Regions from separate parts of the Homo sapiens genome. Here region 2 is linked to region 1. The links are contacts of gene promoters, found by promoter capture Hi-C in human tissues and cell types (Jung and others, 2019). All regions are on one chromosome and are shown on one strand. The core of a region is centred on a gene start or on the middle of the fragment in contact, and the rest is flanking DNA. Distances in the headings are between cores, read along the strand shown.

What was found. Contacts are between HindIII fragments. The study calls those that stand out against the background at their distance.
Region 2: a fragment that was not itself captured here is called in contact with the fragment with the promoter of GAB4 in region 1 in 2 of the 25 tissues and cell types used here (mesendoderm cells and stomach).

Annotation. Positions count from the first base shown.
Region 1 is chr22:17,004,907-17,011,469 of GRCh38, reverse strand. It overlaps GAB4 (GRB2 associated binding protein family member 4), which reads left to right and starts at 3,248. Exons shown (of 10, transcript NM_001037814.1): 1 at 3,248-3,529. The coding sequence starts at 3,356. The HindIII fragment of the contact is 10,541 bases long and covers 1-6,563 here.
Region 2 is chr22:17,045,748-17,052,310 of GRCh38, reverse strand. It overlaps CECR7 (cat eye syndrome chromosome region, candidate 7), which reads right to left. Exons shown (of 4, transcript NR_152826.1): 3 at 4,885-4,987. Among named protein-coding and RNA genes, the nearest start is that of CECR7, 12 kb to the right of the region's middle. The HindIII fragment of the contact is 5,281 bases long and covers 1-5,020 here.

The DNA of each region.
Region 1 (6,563 bases), core at 1,999-4,498:
GGGTCCAGGGAAGCCCTGCAGCACCAGGAAAGGAGATCCTGGTGTCACCCTACAAGGAAGAAGCTGAGACAAAGTTAATCTTAGTAGAGAGTTTATTTGAGACAAACTTCAGGATTGCAACTCTGGAGCATAGATTCAAGTTATCCTGAATATACACTGCAATTAGCAGCAGTTATGAGCTGATTTTTAAAGGCAAAACAAGGTGGGCAGGGAAGGGGCAGATACAATTCCTCAGGAATTTTAGTTGGTTCATAGCAATAACACTGCTTAGTGATGGGCCGTACACTGTTAAGCTATAGGGTGTGGGGTATGGCGTCTGGTGTGGCATTATGAGGTAAATTCATAGCTACTTCTGGCAACAGCAGTATCAAGAAATGAATACACAGCTCAATGTGAGGGAGTAGGACATGACTGTGGTCTCATTTTAATGCCTCTTTCTGGGCCTGATAATTAAAGCACTTGCATTTCTCAGATAAAAGTTATTTTATTTTCCTGACTGGTAAAGACCCAGGTCAGCTTGGTCCAGACCGCAGGGAGAGGCCCTCATGCCCTGTGTCCTTTGCCCAAAGTGAGAAGCCTGAGGGAGCACACTGGAGCCCACCCCTGGAGCTCTCCCTCTGCCCTTCCTCCTACCCACGGGGCATGAACTGCCAGCTCAGCAGGGAGGGGAGGGTCCTATGTGACCCCCAAGTAGTTCGCTGATACATGGGCTGTGGGAGCCAGACGAGGCCCACAGAGGGGGAAATGCAGAGCCCATTCCTGACTCTGGTGCCAATGTGTGACTCCAGGGGAATCGAAGGGGTGGGCAGACCAGGAGCCCAGGGTCAGTGAGGGTCCCAGGGGCAGCACAAGTGCTGGAGACCCTCCCCGACAGCCACCGGACAGACACTCACAGAAGGAGGAGGTGAGACCCATGGTGGGCACGGATAGCTGCAAAGCAGAGGAAACAGAGATAAGTTATGAGAAACTTATATATATTTTCCATCAACCATGGAATGGAAGACACAAGAAAAATAAATCATCAATGGAAAATAAAGTGGTTTTTTTTTGTCCACTTGAGACACAGAGGATAAATTTAAATTCACTGTATACACACACAAAAAGGCTCAGAACACTCATAAGTCGCCCACAGTGGCCCCCAACCGTCATCAAAGCCAACATCCTGGGCAGGCTAGACCTTGGGGCAACACCTGCCTTCCATGCCCTGTGGCAGTCTCTGCACTCTCCTGAAGTTCCCATTGTGCGCACTGTAGGGGGCTGGAAGAATGTTGCTGGAGAGGACATATTCTGGAAGAGGGTTCTTTCCACCCTGAGGCCAGGAGAAGACAGTCAGAGGCCCACGGGGACCCAGGTCGGGGCTCCTGCTGAGGCCCCAGTCGGTACGAGGTCACTGCAGGGGCTGAGCTCCCTTCCATCCAGGAAGACCTTATCTGCCTCATTCCTGCCACTGCCTCTCTCCCGTCTCACCCCATCCAAACCTACTCTCATCTCAGGGCAGGATCCAACTGGGTACCCTGTGGCCTCGTTGGCTAACTGATTTATACTAAGGTATGTGTCCTTTACAGTGTGAGCTGTGATGGTGAGTTTAGAATTGACTCGCCATGACTGCAGCCTGCAGAGGGAGCCAGCACCTCCAGGAACCCCATTCTTGCCATCAGCAGAGGGTCTATGGCTCCCACCTCATCCAGTGTCTCCCTGAGCACCATGTCTGCCTGACCAGGACCCAGTGGTCCTCCCATGAGGATGCTGCCTAGGGCTCCAACCCAATAGGTCCAAATACACCTCACCAACCTCCCCTCGGGGCTGTCCCCCCATTCCCCACCTCAGGGTCGGGTCACTACTCATATCTCATCCACCCACATGTCTCCTCAGTCTCAAGACTCTGCAATTTCCTCCATGTGGCTCCATCTCCACTTTTCCCACCAGCTCAAGCCAAATCTTATCTCTATGGACATCCCATTGGCCCTCATCAGGTCCCCCATGTCTGCTTGTTCCTGCAATCCATTCTCAAAACATAAAGCATAACATGTCACACAGTTTCACACTCTTCAGCACTTTCCTTTGCTCTGAGGAGAAGCCAGGCACCCACTCACCTGGCCCCACCCAGCACCCCCATCCCCACACACTCTTCCTTGCATCCTCCCTGCTACCTGATGGGGCCCCTGTGCCCCTCTTGTAAGCTGACATGCAGTGCACATTGGGGATGGCTTACTGAAGAGGCCCCTTGTCTGTCCTGTTCTCTAAGACATCTGCAGAGGCAAGAACAGATCCTGTGCATATCAGATGCCCCCAACTGTGCTTTCACACAATGTGTGAACAAAGAAGCAAACCAAGCTCCTCCAGAGGCAGGAGACAAGGACCTCCGGCTTCTTGGTCCCCGTGACACCGGGTCTGGTTGAGGCCAAGCTGCCCTCATCTTTGACCTGTTCTCTCCTTCCCTTCTCTCCCCAGGCAACATGAGAACCTCCAACTGGCCCAGGGAAGGAACTTGTAAAGCCCACCCCAACCAGGATAAGACAGTGGGGCATAAATGGGAGGAGAGGGGTTGGCTGTCAGTGCCACACTCAATGAACACTCACACATGCACACACTGATGCGTGCACACACGTGACATAAGTACACACGGTGACATCCCAATACATTCACAAACATACACAACACAAACAGGCCCAAACCCTCACTCTGAAACCTAACCCCACCCCCAAACTGCAACCCGGAACTCAAGTCCTAGCCTGAACCTTGACCCCAAACCCCAACTCAAGTCAGAAGGTAAACCATGGGCCGAATCCCGAACTGGAACTCAAACCCCAGCAGGAACCTGAACTCTTCCATTGTCTTTCCTCATCTGGCGCATGGGACTCAGCACCTGAGACTCTGTTGTGGCCCTCTGAATGAGCTGCGCCCCTCGTTCTTGTCCTCTCCACCAGCTGCGCTCCCTGTCCCTCTTCTCCCAAGGAGCCACCCGGCCCATGTCCCCCGCCCCGGTGGTCCCGATGAGATGCACCCAGGCTGACCCAGGGTGCAAATCCCCACCCCAATCCCCAACGCAAACCCTGAACGAGAGGCCTCGTCTAAACTTTAATCCCAAACTCCACCTCAAATTGGAACCGGAACCACAGATGGAAGCCTGAACCGGAACTCAAAGCCCAGCTGGAACCTGAACCCCGCCCTCGCCTGTGAGCACCTGCGCCCGGGTCTCGCCCTCCCCACGAGCTTCACCTCTGACCCCGACCTCCCCTAGAACTGCGCTTTCTACCCCGCAGTCCCAGGGTATCGCAAGCCGTCCCTCACACCCCACCTCCAGCAACGCCCTCTCGCCCTGTCTCCCCCACCTTCACTGTGAGCTGCAGCCCCCATGTCCCTGCCGTCCCCCTCACCCTCCCGGGAGCTGTGCCCACCTGACCCGGCATTTGCGCCTTTGTCTTCGTGGCCCGGAAGTGGCCCCGCCGGCGGAAGCACGAGAAGTGGCCACGTGCTGTACAGCGGCTGGCTGAGGAAGTCGCCCCCCGAGAAGAAGCTGAGGCTCTTTGTGAGTGGGGCAGTGGGGGCGGTACCAGGAGCGCCACGGAGGGTCTGGGGACTCCGGGAGGGGCGTGGGGGAGGCGGCCTGGGTCCACGGGAGGAGCTGCGGGTGGAGGCGACTTCTCCACGTCTGCATGCGAAGGCGACTCCCCGCCAGTGAGAGACAGGGTCCAGGTTTGTGTGGGTTGCGTTCCGAGACCCAGGGAGTTGATTCCAGGGCTGGGGACCCTATTACCTTGAGCGCCGTGGGCCTGCAGGTCGGAGAGTGGGCGGGAAAGGGGACACAGCAGGCTCCGCAGCCTCGCAAAACGGCAGGAACCTCGCACCCGCTCCCCTTCCCTCCCAGGCCCTGAGAATGGCGGGCACCTCGCACCCTCTCTCCTTCCCTCCCAGGCCCCAAGGAAGGCAGGCGCCTTAAACCTGCTCACCTTCCCTCCCAAGCCCCGAGAAGGCAGGCACCTCACACCCTCTCCCTTTCCCTCCCGGGCCCCAGGAAAACGCGGGCACCTCGCACCCGCTCGCTCCCCTTCCCTCCTCACCCGCCACTCCCGGGGTCGTTCGCGTCCTTCCATGCCACCACGCCTGCTGAGGGACAGTGTGCACTGCAGTGTAGTTTTCTATATATTAATTCATGTGGTTAAACGATTTAGAAAAAAAGAAGATTGGTTGCCCTTTCCCCTAGTGGCTAATTTGAAGAGTGTTGTTCTAAATTTCAACAATTTTACTGAGGAAGCGGTAATTGTTAGGAGTCACTATGATTATACCAAGGTACATAGAAGAGGCTTTTCTCTCCTGTTCCTTAGCCCCAGGTCCAGCCCTTCAAGAATCTATTCCAGAATAAGCTGATCCTATAGTCATCTTCCCTTTCCTCTGCTTCCCTGAGGTATGGGGTATGATCAATTCTGCGTTCTTGTCTTTCTCCATTTCTTTTTTCAATTTTTTATTATACTTTAAGTTCTGGGATACATGTGCAGAACGTGGAGGTTTGTTACATACATATACACGTGTCATGGTGGTTTGCTGCACCCATCAACCCATCATCTACATTAGGTATTTCTCGTAATGCTATCCCTTCCCTTGCCCCCCAACCCCAATAGGCCACATTGTGTAATGCTCCCGTCCCTGTGCCCATATGTTCTCATTGTTCAGCTGCCACTTATGAGTGAGAACATGGCGGTGTTTGGTTTTCTGTTCCAGTGTAAGTTTGCTGAGAATGATGATTTCCAGCTTCATCCATGTCCCTGTAAAGAACATGAACTCATTCTTTTTTATGGCTGCATAATATTCCATAGTGTATATGTGCCATATTTTCTTTATCCAGTCTATTATTGATGGGCATTTGGGTTGGTTCCAAGTCTTTGCTGTCGTGAATAGTGCTGCAATAAACATACGGGTGCACTTGTCTTTATAGTAGAATGATTTGTAATCCTTTGGGTATATACCCAGTAATGGGATGGCTGGGTCAAATGGTATTTCTAGTTCTTGATCCTTGAGGAGTCGCCACACTGTCTTTGACAATAGTTGAACTAATTTACACTCCAACCAACAGTGTAAAAACATTCCTATTTCTCCACATCTTCTCCAGCATCTGTTGTTTCCTGACTTTTTAATGATGGCCATTCTAACTGGCGTGAGATGGTATCTCGTTGCATTTCTCTAATGACCAGTGATGATGAGCATTTTTTCATGTTTGTTGGCCACATAAATATCTTCTTCTGTTAAGTGTCTGTTCATATCCTTTGCCCACTTCTTGATAGTGTTGTTGTTTTTTTCTTGTAAATTTGTTTAAATTCCTTATACATTCTGGATATTAGCCCTTTGTCAGATGGATAGATTGGAAAAAATTTCTGCCATTCGGTAGGTTGCCTGTTCACGCTGATGATAGTTTCTTTTGCTATGCAGAAGCTCTTTAGTTTAAATAGATCCCATTTGTCAATTTTGGCTTTTGTTACCATTGCTTTTCATGTTTTAGTTATGAAGTCTTTGCCCATGCCTATGTCCTGGATGATATTGCCTAGGTTTTCTTCTAAGGTTTCTATGGTTTTAGGTCTTACGTTTAAGTCTTTAATCCATCTTGACCCCGACCTCCTTCAGAACTGAGTTAATTTTTGTATAAGATATAAGGAAGGGGTCCACTTTCAGTTTTCTGCCCATGGCTAGCCAGTTTTCCCAACACCATTTATTAAATAGGGAATCCTTTCCCCATTGCTAGTTTTTGTCAGGTTTGTCAAAGATCAGATGGTTGTAGATGTGTGGTGTTATTTCTGAGGCCTCTGTTCTGCTCCATTGGTCTATATATCTGTCTTGGTACCAGTAACATGTTTTGGTTACTGTAACCTTGTAGTACAGTTTGAAGTCAGGTAGTGTGATGCTTCCAGCTTTGTTATTTTTGCTTAGGATTGTCTTGGCTATACGGGCTCTTTTTTGGTTACATGTGAAATTTAAAGTGGATTTTTCTAATTCTGTGAAGAAAGTCAATGGTAGCTTGATTGGAATAGCAATGAATCTGTAAATTACTTTGGGCAGTATGGCCGTTTTCACAATATTGATTCTTCCTATCCATGAGCATGGAATGTTCTTCCATTTGTTTGTGTCCTCTCTTATTTCCTTGAGCAGTGGTTTGTAGTTCTTCTTGAAGAAGTCCTTCACATCTCTTGTAGGTTGTATTCCTAGGTATTTTATTCTTTTGGTAGCAATTGTGAATGGGAGTTCACTCATGATTTGGCTCTCTATTTGTCTATTATTGGTGTATAGGAATGCTTGTGATTTTTGCACATGGATTTTGTATCCTGAGACTTTACTGAAGTTGCTTACCAGCTTCAGGAGTTTTTGGGCTGAGATGATGGGGTTTTCTAAATATACAATCATGTCATCTGCAAACAGAGACAATTTAACTTCCTCTCTTCCTGTTTGAATACCGTTTATTTCTTTCTCTTGCCTGATTGTCCTGGCCAGAACTTCCAATACTATGTTGAATAGGAGTGGTGAGAGAGGGCATCCTTGTCTTGTGCCGGTTTTCAAAGGGAATCCTTCTAGCTTTT
Region 2 (6,563 bases), core at 1,131-3,630, 42 kb before region 1:
GACAGGTCTTGAACTCCTGGGCTCAAGTGATCCTCTTGCCTTGGCCTCCCAAAGTGCTGGGATTACAGGTGTGAGCCACTGTGCCTGGTCCAATTCAACGATTTTTAGTATATTTAGTATATTTATGGAATTATGTAACCATCACCGAAATCTAGTTTTAGAACATTTTGTCATCCCAAGAAAGAAACTTGTGCCTATCAGAGTCACTTTTCAGTCTTATTCCCAGCCCTCGACAACCAGTAATCTGCTTTCTGTCCCTATACGAGGCTGTCCTGGACATTTCATATAAACTGAATCATGCAATGTGTGTTGTTTTGCATCTGGCTTCTTTCATGAAGCATTGTGTTGTTGAGGGTGACCACTGTGGTAGTGTGCCTCAGAACTTCCTTTTGATTGTTGAGTAGTATTCCTTTGTATATCCCACATTTTAATCCCTTTGTCAGTAGATGGGCATTTGAGTTGTCTCCACCTTTCGATTCTTGTGAATGGTGTTGTGAATATTCACATACAAGTCTTTGTGTCGACATACATTTTTATTTTCCCTGGGTAGATACCTAGAAGTAAAGTTGCTGGGTTTAAAGCAGTTTTATTTTTAACATTTTAAGAAACTGACATACTATCTTCCAAAAAAGTGGCTGCACCATTTTATATTCCCACTGGCAGTGTATGAGGGTTTCGATTTCTCCACCTCCTCTCCAGCACTTGGCGTTATCTGTCTTGATTGGTTGTATTCATTCTAGTGGGTGTAAAGCGACATCCCATTGTGGATTGATTTGCATTTTCCTAGTGACTGATGTTAAACACTTTTTAATGTGCTTATTGGACATTAATATATCATCTTTGGAGAAATGTCTATTCATGTTCTTTTCCCATTTTTAAGCTGGATTGTCTTTTAATATTGAGTTGTAAGAGTTCTTCTGGATATATCACTTATTAGACATATGATTTATAAATATTTTCTCTCATTCTGTGGGCTGTCTTTCCCTTTTTTGATTGTATCTTTTGATGTGCCAAAGTTTTAAATTTGGCTGATGTTCAATTTGCCATTTTTCATTTTCTCACTTTTTCCCTTTCCTCCTTTTCCAGGTCTCATTATTTAGCCCCAGCTGGTCTTGAACTGTGCTTTTGACATTGCATCTAAGACATCAGTGCCTTACACAAGATCACAAGGATTTACTCCTGTGTTTTTTTCTAAGAGTTTTATAGTTTTAGTTTTTACATTTAGGTCTGTGATCCATTTTCAGTTAATTTTTGTGTATGGTGTTAGGCAGAGACCCAAATTAATTTATTTGCACATGAATATCCAATTGCCCCACCACCATTTGTTGAAAAGACTATTCATGGTTGGACATAGTGGATCATACCTGTAATCCCAGCACTTTGGGAGACCAAGGCAGGAGTATTGCTTGACTCCAGGAGTTTAAGATAAGCTTGGGCAACATGGTGAGACATGTGTCTCTACAAAATGAAAAACAACAAAAAAAGAAAAGACTATTCCTTTCCAAATGAAGTTTCTTGACCCCTTTGTCAAATCAATTGACTTTAAATGTAATGGTTTCTTTCCGGGATTTCAATTATTTTTCAGTTAATCAATTCATTTTTTTTCGAGACAGGGTCTTATTGTGTTGCCCAGTCTGGAGTGCAGTGGTGTGATCATAGCTCACTGCAGCCTCAAACTCCTGAGCTCAATTCATCCTCCTGCCTCAGTCTCTTAAGTAGCTGGGACGACAAGTGTGTGCCACCATACCTGGCTAATTTTTTTTTTTTCTTTTTGAGACAGAGTCTCCCTCCATCACCCAGGCTGGAGTGCAGTGGTGTGATCTCAGCTCACTGCAACCTCTGCCTCCCAGGTTCTAAGTGATTCTCCTGCCTCAGCCTCTGGAGTAGCTGGTGTTACAGGCACACACCACCACGCCTGGCTAATTTTGTATTTTTAGTAGAGACAGGGTTTTGCCATGTTGGCCAGGCTGGTCTCGAACTCCTGACCTCAGGTGATCCACCCACTTCAGCCTCCCAAAGTACTGGGATTACACCACACCCAGCCATAGTTTTAAATTTAATTTAATTTAATTTTCATAGTTACAGAGTCTTGTTATGTTGCCCAGGCTGGTGTCAAACTCCTGGTTTCAAGGGATCCTCTCTCCTTGGCCCTTTAAAGTTTTGGGATTACAGGCATAAGACACCACACTTGGCTTTATTTTCTTTTACAGATACGTTTTCTCTCTCTTCCCCAGGTTGGAGTGTAGTAGCCAATCATAGCTCACTGCATTCTCAGATTCCTAGGCTCAAGAGATCCTCCCACCTCAGCTTCCTGACTAGATGGGACAGCAGGCCTATACCACCATGCCTGGCTAATCAAATTTGTCTTTAATTTTTATTTTTTTAGACAGGTCTCACTGTCTATGTTGCCCAAGCTGGTCTTGAATTCCTGACCTCAAAGGATCCCCCAACCTCAGCCTCCCAAAGTGCTGCAATTACAGGCATGAGTGCCCAGCCTGAGCTTTCAACTATATTCCAGTGACCTATACATCTGTCCTTAAGACAGTACCATACCCTCTTGATTACTTTGTAGCAAGTTTTGAAATTAGGAAGATAAGTCCTCCAATCTTGTTCTTCTTTTTCAGGATTATTTTGCTTATTCTGTGTCCTTTGCATATCCATATGAATTTTAGGATCACCTTGTCAATTTCTGCAGAAAAGGTAGCTGGGATTTTGATAGGAATCAGGTTGATCCTGTAGACTAATTTGATGAGTACTGACAATAATATTTAGTCTTCTGATCCATGAACATGGAATATCTTTCATTTATTTAGTTCTTTTTTAGTTTCTTTCCACAGTGAGTACTTTATTCTTTGGGATGCTATTGTGAATGGAATAATTTTCTGAATTTCATTTTTGGATTTCTCATTGCTAGTGTACAGAAATACAATTGATTTTTGTATGCTGATTTTGTGAACTTGCTGAACTAGTTCTAGTTTTGTTTTTTTTTTAAACTGGATACCTTAGGATTTTCTGTATACAAGATCATGACATTTGGGAGTAAGACAGTTTTACTTTTTCCTTTCTAATCTGGATCCTTTTATATATCAATCGCCTAATCATCCTGGTCAGAACCAAGGCTGCATAGACCTGCTGAACATGGCCATCCTTGTCTTGTTCCCAATCTTAGGGGAAAGCATTCAGTCTTGCACCATTAAATCTGTTAACTGTTAGGTTTTCACAGATGCTTTTCATCATGCTGATGAAGTTCCCTCCTGTTTCTAGTTTGTTGAGGGTTTTTTTCCATGCATGGGTAGATAATTTCACTCTCATTTACAGAAAAGGAAACTGTCATTCAGGCAGTCTGCCTTCAAAGATCAAGCCCTGGATCACAGTGCTATCTCTACAGCACACTCTTCCATTTAATTTTCCCTCTGGCCCTCCTCCGAATTCTCTCTTTCAGCTCACTTGGGAATGTTGGTGTTCTCCAGGAATCTCAGCTCTTTGCTCATGTGCTTCTCTCCTGAAGTGGGAGAATGGCTTCAGCTGTCACCTGCAAGCTGATGACTCCACACTCCCTATCTTCTTGCCCTCACTGAGCTCTGGTGTGGCCTCATGCTTCCAAGACTTTTCCACTCAGATATGTCAAGAAATCTCAAACCCATCCTGTCCTAGAATGCCCTGTTATCCCTCTCCACTCAAGAAGGCTCCTCTGACTCTATTTTCAATATTGGATGCTTCTGCCATTTGTCCTGTTCCAGCCTGAAACCTGGCCGTGATCCCACATGTTTCCCTCTCCTTGGCTCCTCCTCTCACCTTTTCTAATTGGTGGCCAAGTTCTACCTATGTTCTTTCTTCACCTGCACTGGTACTGCCTTGCTCCTGCCTCCAGTCTCATTCTCCTCAAATTCACCCTCCAGGTAACCAACGGAGTGATTTATCTGAATTACACGTCCTCTGATACTTAGCCCTTCACCAGTTCCCTATTCCCACAGCATGGGAACCAAGGCCTTTTCTCATCTGTTCCATTTCATACACTAGGAACTTCCACCAAAGACTGAAGTCACTAAATGCACTTTCTCATGTCAGTTTTAAGAGCTGTATGCTACTTTCGTCATTTGGAGACATTAGAAATTATGTTACTAGTTCAACTTTACTGTCTTTTGCATGTCATGTTGTCTCATGCCTCAGTGCTTCTTGTTTACTCTGTTGTCTTTTTTTAATATATTAAACTTATTTAAATAGAAACAGGGTTCTTGCTGTGTTGCTCAGGCTGGTCTCAAATTCCTGGGCTCAACTGATCATCCTGCCTCAGCCTCTCAAAGTGCTGGGATTACAGGTGTGAGGCACCAAGCCCAGCCCTGTCTTGTTTTGAGAGGTTCTTCCTCTTTCCACATCATCCCCTCTATTCCTTTACATCTTGAAAATGCCTACTCACTAGGCCCTCCTCTTTGAACCTCCTCCTAACTCTTGCAGAGTTAATTATGCCCTCCTCTGTGTTATTTCACAACATTGCATGTGCTTGTAATATCGCATGGGCTGTCCTATAAGTATTTGTCATTTTCTTACTCTCCTGAGTTCAGCATTTATACTAGATTTATCTTAAACACTCTTATAAATTGCCAGCATATAGAAAGTGCTTAAGAAATATTTGTTGTAATCACCTGAATTAGGATTTATCTATGTCTCCTTGCTTTTAATAGATCATTTTCTAATTTGTCAGTTTAAATACATTTTTAAGAGAACACCCCATCCCTAAGCCAAATTGCTTCTTATGCAGAAAAAAAAGCCACTACTGTGAGTCTCCAAGCTTCCCCCTGCACAGCCACCCTAGGAGACATGGGGCAGGAGTACTGGGAACTGACCCCTTCCATCTGCCCTCACTTAGCTTCCTCGGGTACTTACATGGGGCTGTCACTGACTTTACATGCTGCTGCAGCTCCTTAGTCAGCTGGTCCTTGTCATGGGACAGAAACTGTGGGGTCAGGACAATCAATGCCTTCACCACCTGCAGAACGAGGGCAGAGGCTCATGATGAGTGTCAACCTATTACATAGCATAAAAAGTCAGTATTTATTGAATGAGTGGAAAAACAAGGTGACGTTGGACCCTACAGTAGTTTTGGAAAATAAGAGGACCAGGTGCAAATGCCTGTACTTCCAATGTCCACTCCATGCCTTGAAAAGTTACTTGACCTCTCCTTAACCTCAGTTTCCTTCTCTGTGAAATGGGAATAATAAAGATTCCATTCCTCATTTGGTTTCTTTAAAGCTTCCATGAGATAATACATATAAAACATCCAGGTAGTTTACATTATTATCCCTGTCATCAGTACTTTCATCATTATTTTTACTATTATTATATATACCACCCTGTGCCTGTAACCCAATGGGTATTTGATAATTATTGACAATTTATTATTCATATATTAGTAGTGTTATCCCCATTTTATTGTACAAGGCCTTGCATATAGAAGGTGCTCAATAAACACTTTTTAATAAACAAATGCACGTATGTTCTTCAGCCACGTTGCTGAAATGCCATTCTGGCTCCACCCCTTAGTAGCTGTGTGATGTGGACAGATTACTTAACTTCCTTCTGCTCCTCTTTCCTCATCTACAAAGAGTAGAAGAGCTCTTAGATTATTCCATTTTGTGAGAGTTAAATTATTTGGCATGTATTAAGTGCTCACTAAATATAATCTGTCATCTTTATCTTCAGAGCCACAGAGAGGCCGCAGTGCCCCCAAGTCACTATACTGTGTAAGTGCACAGGCACACTATGCCCTCCTTCCCCCAAGGTTGCCCAGGTAAGGCCTGGAAGTTTCCCGGGCGTTTGCTTTCCTAGTGCCCATGTACAGACACAATGATCTCTGTGCCCTCCTCACTTCCCCTTGAATCGGGTCTGGGCTGCTCACCGTGGCTGACTCTGCCACCACTGGGTGGTCCACCAAAGCACGCTGCACCTCTGTAGCCCAATGCCGTACCTGGAGGATGAAGGGTTCTGGGGTAGATGCCAGGGCTGGGGTGAACCAAGTCCTCAAATCTCCTGCTTTGGAGAGTCACAGCTTCCCTTGGCACAGAGGGCAGAGGTCATAGGGACCCAGAGACTCCTGATCTGTCTGTGCCACGGGCCCAAAATTTGAAGACCTGGACATTGTAGGTGCTCCCAGGGCTTCTCGCCTCACTGCCTTTATTGACAAAGAAGGGCGAATGCTTAGTTCCCTGGGCCCTTGGCCCATGCAGCTTCACCAGACACGAAATCTCTTGGAAGCCTCAAACTTGGTCTTAAACATTTGTGCAAATTCTGCACACTATTTCCCATTGAATCAGCATGATTTTTGGCATTTATTAAATATATTCAAGGCATAAAACATGATGTTTTGATGTACATATACATAGTAGCACGATTACTACACTCAGGCTCTCGTATATCCATTATCTCACGTAATTACCTCTTTTTTTTTCTTTTGTGGTAAGAGCATTTAAAATCTACTCTCTGCAAATTTCCAGTACATCACATTTCAGAAATTTTAAAAAAATCACATCCATTTCTCTAAAATATCCAAGAGAGATTGTTACTGT